Regions from separate parts of the Homo sapiens genome. Here regions 1 and 3 are each linked to region 2. Evidence: promoter capture Hi-C in human tissues and cell types (Jung and others, 2019). All regions are on one chromosome and are shown on one strand. The core of a region is centred on a gene start or on the middle of the fragment in contact, and the rest is flanking DNA. Distances in the headings are between cores, read along the strand shown.

Region 1 (3,656 bases), core at 641-3,140, 220 kb before region 2:
AGCTAATTTTTTTCAGTTTTTTTTTGTAGAAATGGGTCTCCCCCCATCCTGGCTAACACAGTGAAACCCCGTCTCTACTAAAAACACAAAAAATTAGCCGGGCGTGGTTGCAGGCACCTGTAGTCCCAGCTACTCGGGAGGCTGAGGCAGGAGAATGGCATGAACCCAGGAGGCAGAGCTTGCAGTGAGCCAAGATCACGCCACTGCACTCCAGCCTGGGTGACAGAGCGAAACTCTGTTTCAAAAAAAAAAAAAAGAAAGAAAGAAAGAAAGAAATGGGTCTCCCCGTGTTGCCCAGGCTGGTATTGAACTCCTGGGTTGGGCGATCTTCCTGCTCCGGCCTCCCAAAGTGTTGGGACCACAGGTGTGAGCCACCATGCCCGGCCACCACTCCAGCTTCTTTTTTACTTTATTTTATTTTTATTTTTATTTTTATTTTTTTGAGACGGAGTCTTGCTCTGTCACCCAGGCTGGAGTGCAGTGGCACCATCTCTGCTCACTGCAACCTCCACCTCCTGGGTTCAAGCGATTCTCCTGCCTCAGCCTCCTGAGTAGCTGGGATCACAGGCACCCGCCACCACGCCTGGCTAATTTTGTATTTTTAGTAGAGACAGAGTTTCACCATGTTCGCCAAGATGGTCTCGATCTCCTGACCTCGTGATCCACCCACCTCGGCCTCCCAAAGTGCCGGGATTACAAGCGTGAGCCACCGCGCCCGGACCTTCTACAGCTTCTTGAAAGCCACTAGGTTTGTGGCAATTTTTATGGCAGCCACAGAAAACTAGTACATAGATCCCAGTTGTGACAACCTAGGTAGTCTCCAGGCACTGCCCCCGTCCCGGCACCACCTTTGTTGGAGGCCTGTGCTCAGTGCTGGTGCCCTGCTGCTGCTGCCGGCCACCCCTGTGGCCACGTTACCCACCAGGAGGCCGGCTCTGGGCCTCAGCCTGAAGGAGGCCCGGGCTTTGCCTCTGCTGCCACCAGGAAAAGCTGAGTGCCACCTGACCCTGTTCAGCTCTGAGTTTCCGGACGGGCCCAGTAGCTGCCCCTTGCTCTCTTCAAAACTTTTCTTGGCTGCTCTAATTCCTTTTTGCTTCCAACTGAACTTTAGAATCATTTTACTGGAGTCTTTAAAGAGTGTTGTTAGTATTTGTTTGGGATTCAGTTACATTCATTGTGAAGCCAGAGGCCGTGCCTGTTCTGCCTTGTCTGTGCTGGTGGCTGCCCCTGGATGACGCTGAGGTCCCTGCCTCATGGTTTCCCTGGAGGGCCTGGCCCCAGGCTCCAGCGATTGGCTTTCTGCTTCTGCATCCTATCCTTCCAGTGTCCTCCGACAGGCCCTACACACTTGCCTTCCCCCAAGTGGCCAAGGTTGTCTGCGCGTCCCGATTGCAGCAGCCTCCAGTCCTGTGTCTGTGCTTTGTCACAAATGCACTGGCCCCTGTGCCAACCACTGAGGGCCGACGCTGCGGGGCGGGGGGCACTTTCCAGCTCTCCCCATCTTTGGGCATGCCTGGGGCCTCACCTTACTGTTCTCGTTGGAAGATCAGGCCGCAGCGTTTGGGTTGGTGAACCTGGTGAACAATCCACATGTCCACCATGCTCATTGGGAGATCAGGCTGCAGCGATCGGGCTGGTGAACCTGGTGAACAATCCAAATGTCCACCTGATGTTTCCAGAGGTACCAGGGCCAGGTCTTAACCCCGAAGCCCTGCAGGGCAGAATGTGGTGGACGTCGTAGGCATGCTGTCAGTTGGCAGAGCTTCGGAGTAGAGTGTCCAGCAGGTTCAGCTGCAGCCTCCCCATGGGTGGGTGGACTGAGGCGTGGGGGCCTTCTGCAGACTGGCTGGTTGCAGTGCCTTGGGGCACATGGGATGGTACCTGCGTCCCCTGCAGTCCAGCAGGGAGGTGGATGTGTTCACATGTGGTCACCATGCAGGAGTGATATCTGAGTGGGCTGGCCTGGGGCAAGGGGGACGGCCAGCCCATGCTGTGTGTGCACCACTTGCAGAGGTTTGGAGGTACATCTGTGTTCTCGCCCGGCAGCCATTTGACAGCGTCCACTCTGGACTTGCAGTGTGTTAGGGACATGGTTAGAAAATGCAGAAAGTGCCTGTAATCCCAGCCGGGCGTGGTGGCGGGCACCTATAGTCCCAGCTACTTGGAAGGCTGAGGCAGGAGAATGGCGTGAACCCAGGAGGCGGAGCTTGCAGTGAGTGGAGATGGGACCACTGCACTCCAGCCTGGGCAACAGAGGGAGACTCCGTCTCAAAAAAAAAAAGAAAATGCGGAAAGTGCAGTTGGCCCACCCTCAACCCTGCTGGCTGGGCAGAGTGAGAGATGCTTCCCCCACTGGGGTTCCTGGCTCAGTGACGGAGGTGCGGGGGGCCGACCTGCTGCTTCCCCCATGAGTGCTGACCCCCGCTTTGTTCTCACTTTGTGTCTGTGGATGTTAGGAAAGGGTTGTAAATGCAGATCTCCAAGTTTTGGCTGATCTGTCTTTTTTTGTGTTTCCAGGTGCTGGCAAAACCCCGACTCTGGGTGGCGGCTTCCACGTGAATCTGGGGAAGGAGTCGAGAGCGCAGACCCTGCAGAATGGTATTTCCCACCGCGGATGCTGCTGAGCGTGCGGCGGGTCCCAGAGATGGGGATGGTGGTGCTAGGGTGGAGGGCACTGACTCAGCCATGGACCTCATGGCCTGCCACTTCCTCGTCACCCTGCACGCCCAGCCCAGGCTGCTTTCCAGGAGGAATTGTGCCCTGAGTCCCCTCCTGGGTGTCCTGCAGACTCTGCCAGGGCTGTTTGGGGAGAACCCAGTGGATCCCACAGGATCCACAGCCATTGCTTGATGGCCTCAGTGAGATGGAGGCAGAAATAACACATTTATAGCAGTTGGATATTGTAGTGACATTCTCACTGCGTTTTGTCAAAGTGCCAGTTCACCACAAACTGGAGAAATGTCTGCTGGGTTATTTGTCTTATGATTGAGTTGAAAAAGTTCTTTATGTGTTTTAGGTACAAGTCTTTTATCGGATGTGTGATTTTATATATTTTAGGTGCAAGTCGTTTATCGGATGTGTGATTTTATGTGTTTTAGGTACAAGTCTTTTATCGGATGTGTGATTTATAGGACATTTTCAGCCATTTCATGCGTTCTTTTCATTTTCTTTTGTCTTTTTATTTTTCGCTGGTATCCTTTGGAGCATGAAAGTTTTAAATTCTGATAGTATCCAGTTTACCTATTTAGTCTCTTGATGGCTGTGCTTTTGGTATCATAACTAACAAATGTTGCCTAATCCAGTCCAAATCGTGAAGATTTGTGCTTATGATTTTTTGGAGTTTTGCGCCTTCCTCTCTTTCCAGTAGGTTTTGGTCCATATTGAGTCAGCGTTTGCATGTGATGTAAGGTAAGGGCCTGCCTTCACTCCTGCACGTGCAGACCCAGTTTTCTCAGGACCATGTGTTGAAAACACTGTATTTTGCCAGTTGGCATCCTCTTGGTGCCCTTGCTGAAAATCGATTGACCGTAAACCTAAAAGCTCATTTCTGGATCCTCAGTTTGGCTTAGTGACTGCATGACAGTCCTGGTGCCCGTTCCACGCTGTTCAGGACACTGAAGCTTCGCAGTCAGTTTTGAAATCAGGAACTGTGAGTC
Region 2 (3,894 bases), core at 35-2,534:
CCAAGGTAGGCCCTGCCCTGAGACCTGCGCCTCCCCGCCAGGGCAATGGGAAAGCCCAGCTTTCCAGGGACTCCACTGCCACCCACACAAAACCCTCTGAAATCGCTGTTCGGAGGCAGCCTCCAGCCATGCGGCCCTGCAGCAGGGGGCAGCTGTGATCCACGTGTCTGGGGGAAAGTGTAGACTGGGGGCTCGGCCTCCACCGGCCTCTCCTGGCCGTGGGTGTACCCACCCAGGATGGCGGCTTCTTCGCTCAGTGACCGTCCCTGCTGCGGTGCTGGGCAGTGTCGCTTGGAGACATTTGTGGTCCCCAGCTCCTTCCCTCAGCCCGGCCCTGTCCCCACTGCTGAAAGAGCCTGGCTTGGATGGAGCTTGGCAGGCTCGGGAGTGGGCACCAGGGTGGGTCTGTGCCCTGAAACTCAGAAGCAGCCTGGAGGTGAGTGGAGTTGTAGGTGCTGTCCACAGCCAGCTGGCTTTGTCCAAGGAAACTGGGCCCATCATGGCCGGAAGCCCCACAGTGAGGGGGACTGTCCCAGGCAACCCTGCCTGCCCACCCTCCAGTTCCCACAGGGCCCCTCACAGAGAAGCCCACCCGCAGGGCTCCTGGGCCAGGCCAGGCTTGGTTCTGGATGCAGGAGGGGTTGAGGTAGGGCTGGGGGAGGAATGTGGAGTGTGCAGTAGGCTGTTCTTCCCACACGGCCCTGCCCCATGTAGGAAGAGGGAGGCGGGGAGGGGAGGGTGCTTGTGTGCAGTGGCTGTGCCGAGCCTTCCAGGACATGCAGGTGCCATCCTGGTCCCGGGGCTGCAGTGGGCGCACTCAGCCTCTCTACTCCTGGCACCCCGGACAGGGACTCCTGGGAGGACACAGCCTCTGGGAAGTCACCCTGCTCCGTGCTTGCCTGGCCCGAGAGTGGGCAACACCAGGCCTGAGCTGCAGAGGAGCTGGATTTTGTCTTTCCAGGACCCCTCCCTGCAGCCTTTCCAGGACCCCTGTCCTGCCTTGCCTGTCTGGGGACACACGGACAGCCGCTGTGCCGCGCCAGGCCCCAGCACCTGCCTGGGAGCTCCTGAGTGAGTGGAGCCTGGCTCTGAGTGCTGCTATTGCTAAAAGAGGTAAGACTGGGGTTTCCTGCCACTCCCTCCCTCAGGAAGGTGACGAGGCCATGCTGTCATCACCAGTAAGATACCCCAGCCCGGTTGGCTAACCCCTAGCTCAGCCCTGTTTGTGGTTAGGGGAGTTCTAGACAGAACATAATTAGACCCCTGCTACTTCCTGAAACCTCAGCTAGGACTGCAGGGAGGGGTGCGAGGCTAGCCACGCAGGCGGGGCCCTGGGTAAGTCGCTGGGCTCTGCGTGCTGGGGAGTGGGCCTGGGGGGCCAGGCTCTGGGATGGGGCTGGGGGCTGGGAGCTGGAGGCGGGCAGAGGGGGATCTGAAGGCAAAGGTGATTTGTTGGTAAAGATGGAGGCTTTGTTGAGGGTTCTTAATCTGGGGTCCCTCCCGAGAGAACCCAGGACCCCCAGTGACCACAGATGTGATGGGGCCGGAGGATTTGGGGGAGAGGGACAACAGTTTCCATTGTATCTTTGTCACCGCCACCTTCCTGGAGACTTTCTTCTGGAAAAGGCTTCCCTGGCTACTGGTCCAGATGGGGGTGAGTCAGGGGGCTGGACTTTGTCCCTGGAATCTCTCCTTGGCCACTTGCTTCCGTGATTGGTCGGGGGGCACTGAAGGGCTGGGCTTCTCTCTGTGGGGCCTGTGCTGCTTGTGGGGTTACACAGAGGGAAAAGCAGGGCAGTGGGGGCTGTGCTGCGGTGAGTGGCAGTTGGCCCAGTCACGTGACAAGATCCTGGAGCTGGGCAGGTCACCGGCCTTTGGAGTGGCGTTCGGCGCACCAGGCACAGCGGGGCGGGGGGCCCAATACCTTCTGTCAAGTGCATGACGTGGGTCTGTACCACTGCAAGGGACTGGGACTGACCACTGAAGACTGGCCAGTTGGGCTGAGCACAAAATGATATTTCAGGAGATTGGCCAGGCCGAGGTGGGAGAGCAGAGGCTCCTGGAAGAAGATGAGGATAGGGGCTGGGCACGGTGGTTCATGCCTGTAATCCCAGCACTTTGGGAGGCCGAGGTGGGCGGATCACTTGAGGTCAGGAGTTTGAGACCAGCCTGACCAACATGGTGATACCCTGTCTCTACTAAAAATACAAAAATTAGCCGGGCGTGTTGGCACACGTCTGTAATCCCAGCTACTTGGGAGGCCGAGGCAGGAGAATCGCTTGAACCTGAGAGGCGGAGCTTGCAGTGAGCCGAGATCGCGCCATTGCACTCTAGCCTGGGCAACACTATCAAATTGGGAAAAATAAGAAAGTTGACAATGGGCTTTGGATGGGTGTGGTGGAGCAGGGAGGTTGGAGCTGGTGACTCCACATTTCCCTCCCTAGGGTTTGTCTCAAACGTGACGGCAGAAAAGAGGTCATAGGTTTGCCTGGTGCCAAAGCAGGTGGGAGTAAAAGACGGAAATGGCTAGGAATGGCCAGCAACCGTGAAACAGCTTAGAAATTACAGGCAATCCAGCCAGGTGCGGTGGCTTACGCCTGTAATCCCAGCACTTTGGGAGGCCAAGGCAGGTGGATCACCTGAGGTCAGGAGTTCGAGACCAGCGTAACCAATATGGTGAAACCCTGTCTCTACTAAAAATACAAAATTAGCCGGGCGTGGTGGCACACGCCTGTAATCCCATTTACTTGGGAGGCTGAGGCAGGAGACTCACTTGAACCCAGGAGGTGGAGGTTGTGGTGAGCCGAGATCGTGCCATTGCACTCCAGCCTGGGCAACGAGAGCGAAACTCTGTCTCAAAAAAAAAAAGAAAGAAAGAAATTACAGATAGTCCACAAGACAGACCTCAGCAGCCTGAGGAGCTGTTTTTGACAAATGGGCTGGAATGAGGAACTGCTCCCTGCACATGGCAGGGGCCAGGGCTCCTTCTCTGTCCTTTTGTGTCTGTCTGAAAAGTTCCATCATAAGTTACAAAACAGGCTGGGCGTGGTGGCTCACACCTGTAATCCCAGCACTTTAGGAGGCCGAGGCGGGCGGATCACCTGAGGTCAGGAGTTCAAGACCAGCCTGACCAATATGGCGAAACCCCTTCTCTACTAAAAATACAAAAAATTAGCCGGGCATGGTGGCAGGCGCCTGCTAATCCCAGCTACTTCAGAGGCTGAGGCAGGAGAATCACTTGAACCCGGGAGGCAGAGGTTGCAGTGAGCCAAGATCGTGCTATTGCACTCCAGCCTGGGCAACGAGAGAGAAACTCAGCCTAAAAAAAAAAAAAAAGTTACAAAATAGATTTTAAAAGACTGGAGGAGCACAGCAACTTGCAGGCCAGAGAGCTCCAGGGACAGTGGCTGGGTGAGGTCATGCTAGATCCTGTTATTGAAATGTCCATCCCAGGAACATGTGGTGCTTCTCTAATCTGGAAAATGGATTCATTGGCCGGGCATGGTGGCTCACGCCTGTATTCCCAGCACTTTCGGAGACCGAGGCCGGCGGATTTCTTGAGCCCAGGAGCTCGAGACCAGCCTGGGTAACATAGGGAAACCTCGTCTCTAAGAATAAAAGTACAAAAATTAACTGGGCATGGCAGCAGGTGCCTGTAGTCCCAGTTACTCGGAAGGGAGGATGATGTGAGCCTGGGAGGTGGAGGTTTCAGTGAGCAGAGATTTTGCCACTGTACTCCAGCCTGGATGAGGGAGCAAGACCCTGTCTCCAAATAAATAAATAAACAAACAAACAAACAAATAAAGCAAGAGAGAGAGGGAGAGGGTTAGGGAGAGAGAGAGAGAACAATTTTAATAGTATTTAAAGAAAAAAAAGCTGGGCGTAGTGGCTCAC
Region 3 (3,796 bases), core at 1,269-3,768, 220 kb after region 2:
CTAAATCCTGGGAAGGGAAGGTCCCTCTGGTTCTGCTCAGGACTGGAGGTGGGGATTTGACACCTCGGAGAGTTCTCAACCACAGGCTGGAAGGAGTTGGTGTATAAATACCCCAGCTCTCTTCCTCCTAGCTCTGCATGTTTTACATTTTTCCCAAAATTCCCCTGGAGGTTATACTCCAGTTGCCTACCATAGCTACCTCTCCATCCCCATCTTACTCATCCACCACCTTCTGGCATTGCTATGACAAAAACCACAGACTGCACAACTTACAAACAACAGAAATTTATTCTCATTGTTCTGGAGGCTGTGGAGTCCAAGATCAAGGCCCCAGCAGTGTCTGGGGAGGGCTGCTTCCTGGTCCATAGATGGGGCTTCTCACTGTGTCCTCACATGGTGGGAGGGATGAGGGATCTCTCTTGGGCCATTTTTATAAAGGTACTATTGCCATTCCTAAGGGCTGTGCTCTCATGACCTAATCACCTCCCAAAGGCCCTACCCCCTAATACCACCATCACATGTGAACTTGGGAGGGACACACATATTTAGACTATGTTAACTTTTCAGTGTGGGTGCCAATCCCTGTCTGAGTCTGCTTCTGGAGAAATCCCACAGACCCGGAGTGTCCCCAACACCAGGGGGTCCTCACTGTGGGTGGGGTGGGGGAGGGGCACAGGGTGTGGAACTGCCACTACATAGCTCTTTGGCAGGGTGAGATACCAGGGGCTGGCCAGGCCTGGCTTGTGGGAGAGGAGCCAGCTCCAGGGACATGGGGAGAGGGTGGTGGGGTGGAGAAGGATGGGCCCTGCTTTCTCCAGAACACTCTTCTGCCTCCCCTTATCTGAGATCCCTTGAGAGCATTCCAAAGGATGGCCACTTATTCCCCAAGTCCTGAGGTCCTAGGTAAGCAGGCGGCCGCAGGGACCAGGCTCCTTTACCCCTTTCCCCCAATCTGTGTCCTGGCTCCTGCCTCCCCACAAAACACAGCCTGGCCCGCATGCCCCTCAGGGTCAAGTCATACAGCTCAGCCCAGCTTGGGAGAACCACCTGCACCAGACCCTCACCTCCCACCATCACCTTTGACTCCAGCTAAGCTCCAGGCCACCACTCTGAACTCTGAGCTTTTGCACATGCTGTTCCTCTCCCTTCCCTTCATGGGTTGTGTGCCATGTGCCCTTTTTTCTCAGGGTAAATGCCTTCTGACCCCAACTCTGCTCTTCCTCCGTAACCCCCCAGTGTGCATTTGTCACACTATGGTTCTGGTTAGTGAAGCCCTCAGCCTGTGCGGGGCTGGGTGAGGAGGAATCTGCAGGGGAGGGGCCAGCCAGCCAGCAGTAGGCAGCCAGGGCGCTGCATCCCGGAGGCTGTGGTCCCTCCTTCGCAGGTGAGCTCTGAGCACCAGTGAAAGCCCCTCTTTGCCCGCTCTGCTCTGAGCTGATTTCCAAACTTGGAAAAACGGAGACCGTAAGTTAAGAGACCTGAACGCTGGACACATCCGTTGCCAGAAAGAGGCGCTAGGGAGTGAATGAGCGTGACATAAAGAGTCTCCCTGAAGACAGCCATCTCCAGGGCCTGGGCCTCCAGCAGGTCTGGCCTTGGGCGGGAGGCTGTGCAGGCAGAAAACCTGCCTCTCGGTCTCCGAGTGGGCGAATGCGCGCCACCGTGGCTGCACCAGGCTTGCTGGTGATTTGGGAAGAGTTACGTGGCCCCTCTGAGCCTGGGTTTCCTCACTTGCATGGCCTGAGGACCCCAGGCAGAGGAAGCAGGGCCCGGCTGGGCCAAGCTAGATCCTGTCTGGGGGCTGCCGGGCTGGAAACAGCAGGAGCAGAGGGCAGCTTCCGTGGCACAGGAGGCGCGGAAAAGCGGCGCAAGGAGGTGGGGACGGATGAGAAGATTTTGAAATGCGTGCCTGGTTTCCCCTATAAAAGTCGAGTTGCAGAATCTTATTTTGAGATACAGTCCCCTCCCACCCCTGGGGGACTAGGGGTACTAGGGAGCGTCTCATTCTTCTCTCCTGAGTTCCGAAATCCACCTCCGAGAGCGCAGTCTCCAGGCTTTCAGCAGCCAGGCAGGCGCTCGGCGAGAAGGGTTTCTGGAATTCGAGCGATGCGGCTTTGCTCACCAGGGAGCCAGCCCGGGACCCAGAACTTACACCCGGGACCCCGCGAGTACAGGACACCGGTGGGGACAGGAATTATCCCCCGCCCAGGAGGCACTGAGACCCTGCGGGAGGCGTGCGCGGCCCTAGGGGAGGGGAGGGGAGGCAGCCGCCACTCGTGTCCGCGGAGAGTTGGGAGGCGGTCGGTTTTGAAAGGCGGCCAGGGGAGCTTTGTGCTGAACCGGGAGGGCCAGATTTACTCCCTCGGGCCTTCCGGAGTCGCTGCCCGGGAACGCGTGTCTGCCCCCGCTGCGCCCAGACGCGCCTGTGCAGAGAACAGGTGTCCCGGGGGACCGAACGCACTGAGCGCGGATTCTGGGAATATATGCGCGTCCTGGCTCCGGGTAACAGAGCAGCGGAAAGCACCCGCCAGGGAAAGCAGGAAGGGACCGGTCCGCCGGGCGGCGGGGCAGGCGAGCCCGGGGGACGGAGGCCAGGAGGGAGGGAACGGCGGGAGAGACAGGGTTTTCGTTTGGCTTCACTTGCTGTTTAGGATGAGGAAGCCTTAGGGGAGGGCCAGCGGCCAGGAGGAGGCCGCCGGGGCGCTGCGGCGACGGAGCCCCACTGTGTGCCTGCCCCTGCAGGGCCCCGGCCTGGCCTCCAGCACCACCTGCACTTACAGGTGAGCGTGGGGGGCTTGGCGCGCTGGGCGGGCATCCCGGGGTGACAGCACGTATGCCCAAGGTGGCCTGCTTGACTCTTCCTCGAAGCTTCTTCCTTTCGGCCCCCAGGCCTAGAACTTGGGGGCTCACACCCGCAGACCATCAGTCAAAGAGCCTGGGCCTCCCCCAAAGGGCCTCCTGGTACCTCATCTGCCAGGACCCCAACCCCCAAGCTTGCAGGGACAGAGGTTCAAACCTCTGCTGGGAGCGAGCACCTGGTGTTTCCAGCAGGGCCCGGCCGAGGCCATGAGCAAAGGCAGTGGGGAGGAGGAGGAGAGCAGGGCTCTGCTTACCTGCAGAGAACAGACAGGTCTGACCCAATGCACTTATTCCACAGCACAGGGAAAGGCGGGAGCCCCCAGCCCCCAATAACAGATGGTACAGAGGAGAAGGTAGCCACCCACTTGTGCACATAATAAAAGTGAAATAATTGGCGTAAACATTGGTAAAAAAGGATTACAGAGCTTCCCCTTCTTTTTTTATTTTTACATTTTTTTATAGAGATGAGGGTCTTACTATGTTGCCCAGATTGGTCTCAAACTCCTAGGCTCAAGTGATCCTCCTGTATCCGCTGCCCAAACTGCTGGGATTATATGTGTGAGCCACGGCACCTGGCCAAGCTCTTCTTCTTGATGATGATATGCTTGAACACCTGAACGATCTAAGAGACTCAAGTAAAAACTGCTGGCCTTAATAAAATAATCTGGTAAATTGAGAAGAGAAGAAGTATGCTCAATGATCAATCTTTCTTTCCATTCCAATAATGAGCTTCTGGCAAAGGCAATGGGAAATCTATCCCATCCAGAAGAGCGACAAAGAAATATAAAAAGCTTAAGAAAATCACTAAGGAAGGCACAGAACCTATAGGAAGAAAACATGGAATGATATGGAGCAATATCTGGACAAAAGAAAGCAATACCAGGTAGAACCCCAGATCTTTTCAATGACTAAAACTATCTTAAAGTGTATATGGAAG

The links. Contacts are between HindIII fragments. The study calls those that stand out against the background at their distance.
Region 1: a fragment that was not itself captured here is called in contact with the fragment with the promoter of GPR132 in region 2 in 1 of the 25 tissues and cell types used here (IMR-90 fibroblasts).
Region 3: a contact is called between a fragment that was not itself captured here and the fragment with the promoter of GPR132 in region 2, in 2 of the 25 tissues and cell types used here (dorsolateral prefrontal cortex and lymphoblastoid cells).

What each region holds. Positions count from the first base shown.
Region 1 is chr14:105,285,238-105,288,893 of GRCh38, reverse strand. It overlaps BRF1 (BRF1 general transcription factor IIIB subunit), which reads left to right. Exons shown (of 18, transcript NM_001519.4): 2 at 2,518-2,598. Among named protein-coding and RNA genes, the nearest start is that of BRF1, 14 kb to the left of the region's middle. RefSeq lists an enhancer at 2,073-2,971. The HindIII fragment of the contact is 6,229 bases long and covers 1-3,656 here.
Region 2 is chr14:105,062,820-105,066,713 of GRCh38, reverse strand. GPR132 (G protein-coupled receptor 132) reads left to right here and starts at 1,284. Exons shown (of 4, transcript NM_013345.4): 1 at 1,284-1,335. RefSeq lists enhancers at 136-205, 416-585, 261-778, 2,456-2,595, 2,706-2,805 and 1 more. The HindIII fragment of the contact is 15,172 bases long and covers 1-3,894 here.
Region 3 is chr14:104,842,390-104,846,185 of GRCh38, reverse strand. No RefSeq gene overlaps it. Among named protein-coding and RNA genes, the nearest start is that of CEP170B, 21 kb to the left of the region's middle. RefSeq lists enhancers at 859-1,470, 1,471-2,082. The HindIII fragment of the contact is 5,479 bases long and covers 1-3,796 here.